Regions from separate parts of the Homo sapiens genome. Here all the other regions are linked to region 1. Evidence: promoter capture Hi-C in human tissues and cell types (Jung and others, 2019). All regions are on one chromosome and are shown on one strand. Each heading gives the region's core, a stretch centred on a gene start or on the middle of the fragment in contact. The rest is flanking DNA. Distances are from core to core; before and after follow the strand shown. Region 1 holds the start of NNAT (neuronatin). Region 2 overlaps TTI1 (TELO2 interacting protein 1). Region 3 holds the start of RBL1 (RB transcriptional corepressor like 1). Region 4 overlaps MROH8 (maestro heat like repeat family member 8).

Region 1 (3,421 bases), core at 267-2,766:
CCAGTGGTTGCCAAAGGACGACCAAGGGCTCCCTGCTGTGCCCCCACGTGGTAAGGACAGGGTTCTGTATCTAGCATCTCTCACAGCCATAGGTGCTCAGGCACTAAGTGCAGAGTTAAAGCTGTTAGCGGGGCACTGCCGGCCACCAGACCACAGGCAAAGGATCCTGAGGCAGCTACAGCCTCGAAATATTTTAAGATGGCAGCCTAGGCTAAGCTTGCCTTTTTCAAACAGCCCAGCGTCACTTTGCCAGAATCTGCCAACTTCTCCGAAAGTCAATGTAGAAAAAAAGTCACTATGCTACTTTGTCCAAACTGAACTCGTTTGGATCATTACACCTCCATCTGCTGCTGGCACTGTATAGAACCTGACCTCTGGGAGCTTTTAATGAAAATTAATTTTCTATCCACATAGGGGCAAATGCCAGTTGGTCCCTGGGCCAGGCAGCTTGCTGGAAAGAGGTGCTTTCGGCTGGCTACCGGTGCGCGGGGACCACACTCACAAACCGCATTCCGGTCTTCCCGCCCGAAAATCCGCGCTGTGCGAGGGACCCACAAGACTGGCGGTCTAAAAGGGACCCGCCTCACTTGGAAACGGGGCTGCGGTAGCCACAACCCTCCGGTAGCGGTAGCGTAACCCCGTTCGGTGATCCAGCCGCACAGCGCAACGGGTACAAAGAACCCCACTGGCTAAGGCCGACCTACCAGGGCTTGGGGGAGGGGAGCGGAAGACTGAGGTCGAAACGACCTGTCCAGCAGAAAACTATCCCCAAGCATATTCCAACCACTTCTCCGTAGAGCTCATTCCTTCCGTGCATACGAAGGGCGCCAATCCTTCCTGTATCCCTCCTACAGATACCGGGTGACTACTGCTTTTGCGCCCAAAGCGCAGTGCTCTGGCTCAGCTCCCTACAGTAGCGACCTCCACCGCAGATTCTCATCTCCTCGCTACCGTAAGAGAGATGTAAAGAATCAGACGGGTTACGCGCTCAGGCACCCTCATGAAGCAGAGGACCTGGGCTTAAAACTCATTCAGTATCAGGAAAAGAGCGCCGAGCACGGGCCTATTATGCCAAAGCTTCTGAAAGGGGCACCACGTTTTTTGCTCTATGGGGCAGATGACCCCTCCCTAATTTCGGTTTTCCATCCATCCCCAAGGTAGGCTTTGGAGTGGCACCGGAGACTGAGCTCAAATTTGCAGGCCAGGGACTGGGGAGAAGGGCGCCACACTAAGAGACCTGCACCCCCATTCTCGCCCTGTACTCTACCCAGAGTCGTGGTACCCCTCCATTTTAAAGCAAAATCCAAAAGCAAGCACGGCGGAATCTTCTGGAAGGGGGCTAAGATGGAACTCAGGAGGCGGGGGTCGGTATGGAAAGAGCAGATGGATTATTTTTTTCCTCTCCTGGCGAATGAGGAGCGCCCCCAGCCACCCCTCCTCATAAACACCCCCCAAGGCGCGCATGCGCACTTAGGTGGCGGGCGGGTACTTAAGGCGCGGCCACCGCGGCTGCGGCAGTGCGCCCAACAGCGGACTCCGAGACCAGCGGATCTCGGCAAACCCTCTTTCTCGACCACCCACCTACCATTCTTGGAACCATGGCGGCAGTGGCGGCGGCCTCGGCTGAACTGCTCATCATCGGCTGGTACATCTTCCGCGTGCTGCTGCAGGTAAGTCTGACGGGGTTTCGGGTGGGAGAGGGTTCCCAACTCGCGCCCCTAGAACCCGCAAGACTGCGTCGCGATTGCCGCTTCCCGGACCCGTCCTATTCCGATTGCCGCGATCCTTGCCTGCCCAAGTGCCGCTGCCGGCACCGCGCGCCCCCTGCCCATTCCCTGCGCCGTCCTCCTCGCGCTGACCCTCCCTAGTGCGCCCGCGCCTGCCAGGGAACAAAGACTCGGGGCGCGGCGGGCGACCGCTGCGGACGATCACCCAGGCATTTAGCGACCTACGCGGTAAGAAAAACCCGCTACACCCGGACTCGACCCCAGGAGGGAGGCGGGGCACTACTGTGTTGAAAGACTTTACAGCTCGCAGAGTGAAAATTTTCCACCTTAAAAAATTGCGCATTGCGGAGAAATTTTATTTAAAAAAACATATAGCGCTTGCGGGGGTGGAACAAAAAATAAGTTAGAAAAAGGCACTTCTCAGAAAAAATAAAAATTACTTCGCAAAAAAAAAAAACCCTACAACGAATTAGAGAAAAAGTAGTTCACAGGAAAACAGAAAAACGCGCATTGCAGGAAAAATAAATCGGAGAAAAGCACTTGGCAGAAAAAAATGCATTAGATTAAAAACGCACTGCAGAAAAAAATTAGACAAGGGAGCTAACGGAAAAAAATGGATCGGGCAAAAACGCTTTAAAGAAAAAAATTAGAGGAAAAAGCCCCTCGAGAGAAAAATAGAAGGGGAAAAAAAGCACTTCCAAAAAAGGACAATTGCTTTACAAAAAAAAAAATAATAATAAAAAAAATAAAAAAGAGGCAAAAGCGCTTGGTGTAAAAAGAGATAAATCAGAAGAAAGCGCTTTGCCCATAAAATCATTTACCCTAAAAGCTCCCTTTGCAGGAAGAATTCCCTGCTAAAGGAATCCTTTGCCAAAGGAATCGCATATTTCCTTCAAGGTGTTCCTGGAATGCTGCATTTACTGGGTAGGATTCGCTTTTCGAAATCCTCCAGGGACACAGCCCATTGCGAGAAGTGAGGTATACCTAAGTTGTGGGTCCAATCAGCTTGCCGCCATGCAGCTCTCAGCACAGTTGGAAAAGCTCCAGCTGCCCTGACTCGTGGACAAGCTGCGCCCGCGCCCGCCTCTCCAGCCTACGCTGGATGGGCGGGCGGGGCAGGGGGTGGGGCGGGGGTGGGCACGGCAGCACCACAGACATGCTGTGGGTGCTCTCCACTAAGGGTGGGTCCTGGGTTTCTCGTCGCAGGTGTTCAGGTACTCCCTGCAGAAGCTGGCATACACGGTGTCGCGGACCGGGCGGCAGGTGTTGGGGGAGCGCAGGCAGCGAGCCCCCAACTGAGGCCCCAGCTCCCAGCCCTGGGCGGCCGTATCATCAGGTGCTCCTGTGCATCTCGGCCAGCACGGGAGCCAGTGCCGCGCAGGAATGTGGGGTCCCCTGTGTTCCCTCGCCAGAGGAGCACTTGGCAAGGTCAGTGAGGGGCCAGTAGACCCCCGGAGAAGCAGTACCGACAATGACGAAGATACCAGATCCCTTCCCAACCCCTTTGCACCGGTCCCACTAAGGGGCAGGGTCGAGAGAGGAGGGGGGATAGGGGGAGCAGACCCCTGAGATCTGGGCATAGGCACCGCATTCTGATCTGGACAAAGTCGGGACAGCACCATCCCAGCCCCGAAGCCAGGGCCATGCCAGCAGGCCCCACCATGGAAATCAAAACACCGCACCAGCCAGCAGAA
Region 2 (3,421 bases), core at 491-2,990, 490 kb after region 1:
GGCTTTACAGAGTCTTGAGAATGGATGGTCTCACCTTGTATTTCTCACATAAAATGCTTCAGAAAGCTGGCCATTTTCTCTCCAAAGTCTTCCCTATTCGGTGGTGCTCAAATACCTCTGGTAAGTCACCACAGAATAAACTTCTAACATCACTGGGTCCCGTGGTTTTCAAACTGTGCCTTGAGGAGCCTTAGGGCTTCACAGAAATGTCTCATGGATCACAACAGGGAGGGCACCAAGAGACGGTGGGCTACAGGCATGGGTTCCAGGGTCTCTATTCCTTCAAACAACTCAGCTCTAATTTCAATTATTTTTGTATATCAGGGTTCCCCAAAGGCTTCATTTCAAAAAAGGCTCTTAATACTTAAAGAATAAAACAACAACAACAACAAATCCCACAGCCTGAAAATCACTGCTCTGGTCCAGTGCCCTCCTTTTGCAGACAGCTGGGAAAAAAACTCTGATAACCTTTAGCACCTGCTAATCTCCTTTTCATCAAAGAGCATCTGCACAGAGCAAGAGCAGCAGCAGATGGGAGATGACAGGGCCAGGCAACTGGCAGTATCAGAGAGCAAATGTGTGAGGTGTGAGCCGGAGGTTCCTACACCCAGGGATCCATTATGACATTCTTCAAACTGCATCCCCAGTTGTCTATCAGCTACTTAGTGCACTCTAAGGCACTGGTTCCCAAATAGTTAAAACCTGGACCCAGCATTTACACTGCTAAGACTAGATATGCTGCAAAGATTATTTCTAGATTCAAGGCTGGTGACAGACATTAAAATGTCTTTGCTCACAAATGGCTTTTAAACATATGAAAAGAAGCTCAATCTCACGTTTAATGCAAATTAAAACTATAATAAGGTGCTATTTTTCTCCTATTGGATTAGCAAAGATCAAAAGCTTGGTAATACACAGTGTGGGTGATGGCGTGGCAAAACTGGCACTCTCGTACATTGCTGATGGAGTTTAAATTGGTACAACCTCTTAGAGAGCAATTTGATACTCTCTCAAAAATTTAAACGTAATACCCTTTAAACCAGCATTTTTTTCAGAAATTCATCCTATTAATATACTGAGACATGTCCAAAATGACCTACAAAGATATTCAATGCAGCATTTTTTGTGGTGGCCAAAGACTGGAAATGACCAAAATGTCTACCAAGAAAGGACTGGTTAAATACACTATGGTGCAGACGCGTGATGGAATACTATGCAGCCATAAAAAGAATGCAGCAGCACATTCTCCAAGTTGTGAAGTATGTGACATAAATACTTATTTTCAAAGCTACCCTATTTTTTTCTTGTTATGAATAATCAGCTAACCAGCAGTTGGGATTAAGCAGTAATTAACTGATGCTTCTTGCCCTTACCGTGGCACCTAATGCTTTTTTAGTCACTGCATGTGACACACTATGTTAATGATAACTCAATTTCCTAAAGCTCTTACTGGGTTCTTCTAAGGCCTTTCAGAAGTTCTCTGAGAACACATTTCCACACCCATCTTAAAAGAGTGGACGTCAGTTAGATAATTCTATGACAAACAGAAATGACAGCAAAAGGTACTACTCTGATTTATGAGTGACTATACCAACTCCACCTGAGTACTACTTCCTGTTCAAAAAGTGAGTGTATTCTGGGTTATTTCAAAACTTTCATAAAAGCTAGCTCTAAGTTTGCTTCTGTTCCAAGGAAGCCCCAGAGTCAGTCTTAACCATTCAATTTTCCTTTCTGCAAGGGAGACCCTCTCCCTCCACCTCATTTTTTTTTTTTTAAAAGCACTACAAAGCTACACAGGAGTCTTGACACTCCTCCTTCAGAGATGACCGAAGACATCAGCAATCTAAGACAATTCAATTTTGAAGGCCCAAATTCAGATACCTCTTGAGAGATATATTTCACAGGGCTTTTCTTAACCTACATTTTAAAAATTTCAAATTGAAACATAGCATAGGTCGCTAAAGCAGTACAGGTGGGATATATTTGGCCCATGGAAGCCAGTCTTAGTCTGCATAAGCAACCAGTCAGTCCTATGAGGGGCTCCACGAGGGCAGGCCTAAGTGGGTCTTATTCATGGCTGACTCCCCAGTGACTAGCCCACTACACAGGCTTCCAAGTAGCTGCAAAATAAAATCCAAACTCCTTCTCTTGCTCCTCAAGGCCCTACCAGGATTTGTCCTTGCCCTTCTTTCCAACTTCATCTTGCAACACTCTCTACAAAGGCCTCTTTTCCATTCTCCAAAGACCCATGCCCCTTCTTCCTTCTGGGCCTTCCCACCTGAATTTTTATTTATTTATTTTTTTTTTTGAGACAGTCTTCCTCTGTCACCCAGGCTGGAGTGCAGTGGTGCAATCATGGCTCACTGCAGCCCTGACCTCCCTGGGCTTAGGTGATGCTTCTACCTCCCAAGTAGCTGGAATTACAGGCATGTACCGCCACTCCCAACTAATTTTTTTCCATTTTTAGTAGAGACGAGGCCATACTAGGTTGCCCAGGCTGGTCTTGAACTCCTGGGCTCAAGCAATCCGCCCACCTCAGCCTCCCAAAGTGTTGAGATTACAGGTGTGAGCCACGGCACCCGGCCTGAATGTTCTTAAAAATAAATGTGATAGCCCCCTATGTGTTGATGGGCCTTTCTCATCCTTCAGGTTTTGGCTTTAGTGTTGCTTCCTCAGAGAGGCCCTCCCTGACCACTGAACTTATAGGAGCCTGTGTCTGTTACACTGAGGTGTTTATTTCCTTCACGGTGTTTATCAGAATCTGCCGTGAGCTTGTCTAATGATTTGTTTACTTGTTTATCATCTCTCTTGCAGTGGCAGGGAAGTTCCATGAGTTTATTCGTCTTTTTCTCTGCTCTATCTTCATTACTTAGCACAGTGTCTGACATATGGCAGGCACTCTTGAATGAATGAATGAAAAAGGAACATTTATGCTGAACGTGAATGCTCATGCATGAATAAACAAACACTGGAAATGGCATTAGCTACAGGGCAGTGCACTGTCCCTGCCCCAGTTACCTTCCATGAGAATGTTTCTTACAAGGTCTTGGCTTTTTCAACTGACAAAATGAGGCCAGTGACCATTCCACCTTCTCAGAGGCTATTAGCAGTACTGAGATAAATACTGGAAATATGCTCTTTAAATAAAAGGGACCCAAGCTATACAGCTTATTATTTTCTCATTGAAAGATTGACTATCCAGTTGAAGGATTCCTTTCCTTATAATTGAAGTCCAAAATTTTGCCATTCCTTTTTTTTTTTTTTTTTTTTTGAGACAGAGTCTCACTCTGTCACCCAGGCTGGAGTGCAGTGGCGCGATCTTGGCTCACTGCAAGCTCCGCTTCCCAGGTTCAGGCCATTCTCCTGCCTCAGCTTCCCAAGTAGCTGGGACTACAGGCGCCCGCCACCACGTCTGGCTAAT
Region 3 (3,421 bases), core at 272-2,771, 430 kb before region 1:
CCTTTGAACCCAGCAATTATTTCACTGGGTGGTGAGTCAGTGGTGCACCCTGGGAGTGGGTCCAGCGCCCTTGGCACATGAAAGCCTTTGAACATGAGGCCAGTGGTGCTACATGAAATACACTCCATCACAATTCTGTCTACACTGGGCTTATGCTCGTCTGGGTTTCTTTCTCTGTTTTTAGATAGAGTCTTGCTGTCACCCAGGCTGGAGTGCAGTGGTGTGATCTCCACTCACTGCGGCCTATGCCTCCTGGGTTTAAGCAATTCTCCTGCCTCAGCCTCCCGAGTAGCTAGATTACAGGCAGGCGCCACCACACCCAGCTAGTTTTTGTATTTTTTTAGTAGAGATGGGGTTTCGCCGTGTTGCCCAGGTTAGTCTCGAACTCCTGGCCTCAAGTGATCCGCCCGCCTTGGCCTCCCAAAGTGCTGGGATTATAGGCGTGAGCCGCCACGCCCAGCCTGGGTTTCTATATTAGAATAATCCTAGGCAAGACAACCTTCTGAGCCTTGCCATTATCACCTGGAAAGCAGTCTAATACTCATTGCCATGCCATGTTCACAGGGCTGTTGCGAGGATAAAATGCAAGAATGATGGGGAAAAAAATCAAGTAATTATAACTGACATTTGTTTTATTCAGAGCCAGACACTGATGCAAAGCATCAGGACGATGCTCTGACGGAGGAGGAAACGTAGGGCTGAGATCAGCTTCGTGTGCACATTGGCTTTGATCAAACTGCTGCACAGCGACCGGCAGCTCCACCCTGGTGAAGCAGAGGGTGGAGGTTAAACGGCTCAGACCCTGGGTCTGGCTCCATCTCTAACCGTGTGACCTTGGGCCTGTAGCTTAACCCGTCTAGGGCTCCGCTTCCTCTTGCGTGAAATGGGGATCACAGAAGGGGTTCAGACGGAACTGAGGGTCCATTTAAAGCTCTGGGCAGTGATGTCTTGGCATGCAGTTCATTTTCACTTTACCATTATATTTGTTCTTACTGATTTAAGGGCAGCACCATGACTTTTGTGGCGCTTGGCGGGGTAGAGGGAAGTGTGGTCAGGAAGCCTGGGGTCTGAGCGGCGCGGGACCTAGGCCGCTCCTTTCCTGAGCTTCAGTTTCCCGCCTCAAAATGATGGGTGGATTGGCTGAGCTACACCCACCTTTCCCGCCCCTCGGCGCTTGGCTGCGCAGCGACCCTCCTAGGTGGGGAAACTCCCACCACCCCATAGGCCGAGGAAGGGGCGGGGCAGGGGTGGGGCCTGGCGAGGGTAGGGTCCGGCCGCCCCACCTGCTGCCGCTCACCTCTAGGCTGTAGTTGCCTCGGATGGCAGTAAAGTCGTCCAGGGCTTCGGCCGCGCTCCCCTCGTCCAGGTTCAGCTCCTGGCACAGGGCCTGTAGCGCCTCCCCGGCTGCGGCGACCACCGCCGCCCCCTCAGCGTGGGGCTTGTCCTCGAACATCCCTTCAGGCCCCGCGGGCTGCGCGCCACGGCCCCCGACTTCTTTCTCCCTCCCAGGCGCGCTACCCACAACCACCTGCGCCAAAGCGCGCGAAAATCTGCAGCTGCGGGACGTGTTGTCATCCACCGTCTGCCTCCGCTTTTCTCCTCAAAAAAAGTCCGTTTTTCCTCCGGAGCTCCTAGCAGTCCCTCCCCGGAAATGTGATAAGAAGATGTACCTCAGATTCTGAAAGACCTGTCCTTGGCCCTTGGCTGGTCGCGGGGGGCCCAGCCGGCGGGACAGAAAAAGAGCGGAGGGATCCTCAGCCCGCGCGCAGAGCCTGCTGGGAGGTGTAGTCCATCTCTTGGGAGATGAAGCCCGCGGCCTCCCCCTGTCTTCCTGGTTAGGCTCTTGGGTTTTGGGGCAGGGCTGGGCTGCCTACTGCGAGGTGGCCTCGTGCAGCGTAGTGAGATGCCTCCTCTATCCACGGGCCCTGGGTTTGTCACTGTCCCTGGGCGCCAAACATAATCTGAGCTGTACCCCTTGAGTTAGGAGATGGAGGCTGGAAGAGAAAAAAGTAGCCCCTGGACGAAGAGGGGCCTCTTGGGACTCTCCCCAAAGTCCTAGTGCCCAGTGAGTGGTTCGCTAAATGACAGAGGGGAAGGATTGGTGACGGATATTAGAAGACGAATCCTCATCTCATGCTAGTCGCTAAAAGAGGCAGGCAGAGAAGACTGCAGTAAATGAGGCAGGAGAATAGGGTCTGGAGGCAGGGAACCTATGGCTGTTTCACGTGACTTCTTAGAACTAAATTGAAAGGAAAACCCCAACTTTCCACGCCTAAGTAACAAAAGAACCAGAGGCTGTTCCCTTGGACCTTTTCTGCATGGCAGATGGGAAATTGGCTGTCTGCAACAAATCACACTGAGCGCCTTCCAGTCTTTGTTTGCAACTTTGTAACTTCACTCCAGCCTCTGAACGGTTGCTGTCCACAACCAATCAGACTGATGGCGGGAGAGTCTTCCTTTGCATAGAAGTATAATTTTGTTAACTTCACCCTGGCCTCTGATTGGTTGCTTTCTGCAACCACTCAGACTGATTGTGGGCTACCACTTCAGTTACATCAAGAGAGCATAAAGTGGCCAATGGGAAACTTCTAGAGGGTATTTGGACCCCAGAAGATTCTGTGTCTGGGCCCTTGAGCTGCTGCGTGGGTTCGCTTCCCCACTATGGAGTGTACTTTTGTTTTCAATAAATCCCTGTCTTCGTTCTTTTGTTGTTCCATTATTTGCTTTGCCTGTAATCCCAGTACTTTGGGAGGCCGAGGCAGGTGGATCACTTGAGTCCAGGAGTTTGAGACCAGTCAGGCCAACAAGGCAAAACCCCGTCACTACTAAAAATATAAAAATTAGCTGGGCGTGTGGGTGCACTTGTGTAATCCTAACAACCTGGGCAACTGAGACATGAGAATAAAGAATCGCTTGAACCGAGGAGGCAGAGGCTGTAGTAAGCCAAGATTGCACCACTGCACTCCAGTCTGGGTAACAGAGTGAGACTCTGTCTCAAAAACAAACAACTGAGGACACATCTGTCAAACCCAGCCTCACCTGCATGCATTTAAAAAAACCAAAAATCAATATGCCCTTCCTTATATTGGTTTTATTTTTTCTTATTATCCCAGGACATGCCCATTTAACCCAAAATTGAGCTTTTCTGAATAGAAAATGAAGTATGGAAGGCCGGTTGCAGTGGCTCACACCTGTAATCCCAGCACTTTGGGAGGCTGAGGCAGGCGGGTCACCAGATCAGGAGATCGAGATCATCCTGGCCAACATGGTGAAACCCCGTCTCTACTAAAAATACAAAAATTAGCTGGGCATGGTGGCGGGCGCTTGTAATCCCAGCTACTTGGCAGGCTGAGGTAGAAGAATCGCTGGAACCTGGGAGGCGGAGGTTGCAGTAAGCCAAGATCGTGCCACTGCACTCCAG
Region 4 (3,421 bases), core at 304-2,803, 380 kb before region 1:
GCCTGTAATACCAGTTGTTTGGGACCCTAAAGCGGGAGAAATACTTGAGCCCACGACTTGAGACTAGCCACTTGGCCAACATGGAGAAACACTGTCTCTACTAAAAATACAAAAATTAGCTGGGCGTGGTGGTGCTTGCCTGTAATCCCAGCTACCTGGGAGGCTGCGGGAGGAGAATTGCTTGAATCTGGGAGGCGGAGGTTGCGGTGAGACGAGATCGTGCCACTACACTCCAGCCTGGGCGACAGAGCAAGACTCCGTCTCAAAAAAAAAAAAAAAAAAAAAAAAAAAAGAAGCCTGGCATGTGGCTCATGTCTATAATCCCACCACTTTGGTTGGGAGGCCAAGGCAGGTGGATCACCTGAGGTCAGAGTTCAAAATCAGCCTGACCAACATGGAGAAACCCCATCTCTACTAAAAATACAAAATTAGCCGGGTGTAGTGGCACATGCCTATAATCCCAGCTACTCAAGAGGCTGAGGCAGGAGAATTGCTTGAACCCAGGAGGCGGAGGTTGCAGTGAGCCAAGATTGCGCCATTGCATTCCAGCCTGGGCAACAAGAGCGAAACTCTGTCTCAAAGAAACAGCCCCCCCAAACAAAACAAAACAAAACAAAACAAAACAAAACAAAAAGAAAAGGAAAGAAAAGAAAAAGAAAGAAGCTTTATTATGAGATCTTCAGAAAGAGTCATACTTTTATACGATAGGACTTAAAAAAAGGCCCTAATGTTACACAGCTGACAGGTTCCCAGGCATAATTAAAATGCCTTGTCAGGAGACAACATACTAAAAGAATGTGTCATTCTGTTTCTCATTGCATTTGGTAGTAAAGTCCTTCACATGATTATAATAGGTACAATCTACTGGGCACTTACTATGTGACAAGCATTTAGCAAAGCATTTTCCATACGGTATCTCCTTTAACAACGACTGAATTGTAAACAGTATAAATTGTAAAAAAGAAATTGTAAAAACTGTCCCAATTTTTACAGATCTCCATCGCACAGATGAGAAAACTGATGTGCAGAGAGATGAAATTACTTGGTACCTTTCACCCTACATGAGTAAGATCTGTGGGTTTTCTTTATTTTCCCCTATTCCCTAGCATACCTGGTACCTGGCAGATGTATAAGTATTTATTGAATAATGAATAACTACATTAATTTAAAAAGTCTGGCTTGTTGGATCAACCATACTCTCTTGCAGCTCCTTTTTGTGACCAGCATTTACATTTGCAAGAGACTCGCAATTATGAATAGTAGGAGCAGAGCTGGTATGAAGTGAAGTCCAGGGATACTGGCCTCAATGGCAGGTTGACCTTAACCCCCAAACTAAGAAGGCAAGGCATATATGGGCCAGGAACATGGTGCCTTGTCTCCAAACTACGGAACGTTTAGAGACCACGTTTCCTGGGCAATTGTGTATGGTTTTGTTTTATAAGAAACTACCAGAACTTTTTCCAAAGTGGTTTTTACTGTTTTACGTTTCCATGAATAAATGGCAGGAGACTTCTGGTTGTTCCCCATCCTTGCCAACACTTCTGGCTGTGGTTATAATTTTAGCCATTCTTATTACCTGGGCAATTCTGAAGGGACAGTTGTAGAAGCATTTAGCGGCAGAGCTGTGGAGCTCCAGGAATTCTCGACATTTTGTCAATGCTCTTTTCAAGTTTTGCTGATCTTTCTTGTCATGAGTGATATCTGAAAAGAAAATATAAAATATTAATACTTTCTGGCTTCTTTTTTTCTTCTTGATTTTACAGGTCTGGTTGATCTTCAGTTTAAAGTGGATTCCAAGATCTCACTCTTCTTTTTCACTTGAACAAAAATGCCTGGGGGAGGGAGTGTTTGTTCATCTGAAGGCTGATTTATTTCTCTTTCCTTCTAGAACAATACATAAAAAGAACCAAAAGAAAAAACAAAGAGGAGGTCGAGGCAGATGGATCACTTGAAGTCAAGATTTCGAGACAAACCTGGCCAACATGGCGATACCGAAAAATAAAAAAATTAGCCAAGCATGGTGGCGCACTCCTGTAGTCCCAACTACTTGGGAGGCTGAGGTGGGAGGATCACTTGAACCCAAGAGGTGGAGCTTGCAGTGAACCGAGATCACGCCACTGCACTCCAGCCTGGGTGACAGAGTTAAGACCCTGTCTTTTCTTTTTTAAATTTTTTTTTTGAGGCAGAGTTTCACTCTTATCACCCAGGCTGGAGTGCAATGGCGCGATCTCAGCTCACCGCAACCTCTGCCTCCTGGAGGTGATTCTCCTGCCTCAGCCTCCTGAGTAGCTGGGATTACAGGCATGCGCCACCATGCCCAGCTAATTTTGTATTTTTAGTAGAGATGGGGTTTCTCCATTTTGGTTCAGACTGGCCTCGAACTCCTGACCTCAGGTGATCCACCCACCTCAGCCTCCCCCAGTGCTGGGATTACAGGCATGAGCCACCATGCCCAGCCAACCCTGTCTTTAAAAAGAAGAAGAAGAAGAAAAAAGCAAAAGCAAAGAGCTTTTTGTAAGACCAGAGCATTTGAGTGATTTGTGAGTACAACCAAAGCATGCTACCTTATTTCCCCACTGGTGAGGAACTGTGAGGGGTCTCCCTATGAAGCTTAGGTTCCCAGAAAAAATTGCCCAACTCTATACTGTGTATGATAATTCTGATATCAGAACTCTTCATCATGTGTCAAGTATGCCAATGCTCCTTGTAGTGTCTTGTTTTTCTCATGTTTCATTGTGACCTAATATTTGCTGGAAATTCGTAGATGGAAAATTTATCTTTGAGCCCTTGGCTGAGGATACTTTCTCTCCAACTAGAAAATAAGTTCCCTGGGGGAAGGTATCTTGTTTGTCTTGATTACTGATGCATCACTAGAACAATAAATGCTTCATAACTATTTGCTGAATCAATAATCAACGTATTTCTTTGGCTGTATACCTGGTAGAGATTGCTCATACTGTGCCCAATGACAGGACAGTTGCTTTGGGAAGCATGGAGCTTCCTCATCCATGTGAAGCGCAGACTGAGGCAGAGGAACTACGGTTGTGTGTAGCTTAACAACAGGGATATGTTTTGAGAAATGCACTGTTAGGCTATTGCGTCACTGCATGAACATCACATAGAGAGTACCTTCTTTTTTTTTTTTTAAGACAGAGTCTCTCACTCTGTCACCCAGGCTGGAGTGCAGTGGCGTGATCTCAGCTCACTGCAACCTCCACCTCTCACGTTTAAGCGATTCTCCTGCCTCAGCCTCCTGGGTAGCTGGGACTATAGGCACGCGCCATCACGCCAGGCTAATTTTTGTATTTTTAGTAGAGATGGGGTTTTGCCCTGTTGGCCAGGCTGGTCTTGAATTCCTGACCTCAGGTGATGGACCCTCCTTGGCCTCCCAAAGTGCTGGGATTACAGGCATGAGCCACTG

What was found. Contacts are between HindIII fragments. The study calls those that stand out against the background at their distance.
Region 2: a fragment that was not itself captured here is called in contact with the fragment with the promoter of NNAT in region 1 in 1 of the 25 tissues and cell types used here (dorsolateral prefrontal cortex).
Region 3: a contact is called between the fragment with the promoter of RBL1 here and the fragment with the promoter of NNAT in region 1, in 1 of the 25 tissues and cell types used here (lymphoblastoid cells).
Region 4: a contact is called between a fragment that was not itself captured here and the fragment with the promoter of NNAT in region 1, in 5 of the 25 tissues and cell types used here (H1 embryonic stem cells, bladder, dorsolateral prefrontal cortex and 2 more).

What each region holds. Positions count from the first base shown.
Region 1 is chr20:37,519,734-37,523,154 of GRCh38, forward strand. NNAT (neuronatin) reads left to right here and starts at 1,517. Exons shown (of 3, transcript NM_005386.4): 1 at 1,517-1,670; 2 at 2,625-2,705; 3 at 2,934-3,421. The coding sequence starts at 1,599. The coding sequence ends at 3,026. All of the region lies in intron 1 of BLCAP (BLCAP apoptosis inducing factor), which reads right to left. RefSeq lists an enhancer at 1-589. The HindIII fragment of the contact is 18,819 bases long and covers 647-3,421 here.
Region 2 is chr20:38,007,218-38,010,638 of GRCh38, forward strand. The region is part of intron 2 of TTI1 (TELO2 interacting protein 1); the gene reads right to left. Among named protein-coding and RNA genes, the nearest start is that of TTI1, 25 kb to the right of the region's middle. The HindIII fragment of the contact is 4,274 bases long and covers 1-3,421 here.
Region 3 is chr20:37,094,476-37,097,896 of GRCh38, forward strand. RBL1 (RB transcriptional corepressor like 1) reads right to left here and starts at 1,522. Exons shown (of 22, transcript NM_002895.5): 1 at 1,298-1,522. The coding sequence starts at 1,453. RefSeq lists enhancers at 881-980, 1,214-1,890, 1,541-1,810, 1,931-1,980 and a silencer at 1,251-1,310. The HindIII fragment of the contact is 15,633 bases long and covers 1-3,421 here.
Region 4 is chr20:37,142,141-37,145,561 of GRCh38, forward strand. MROH8 (maestro heat like repeat family member 8) reads right to left here. Exons shown (of 25, transcript NM_152503.8): 11 at 1,577-1,701. Among named protein-coding and RNA genes, the nearest start is that of RPN2, 35 kb to the right of the region's middle. The HindIII fragment of the contact is 5,272 bases long and covers 1-3,421 here.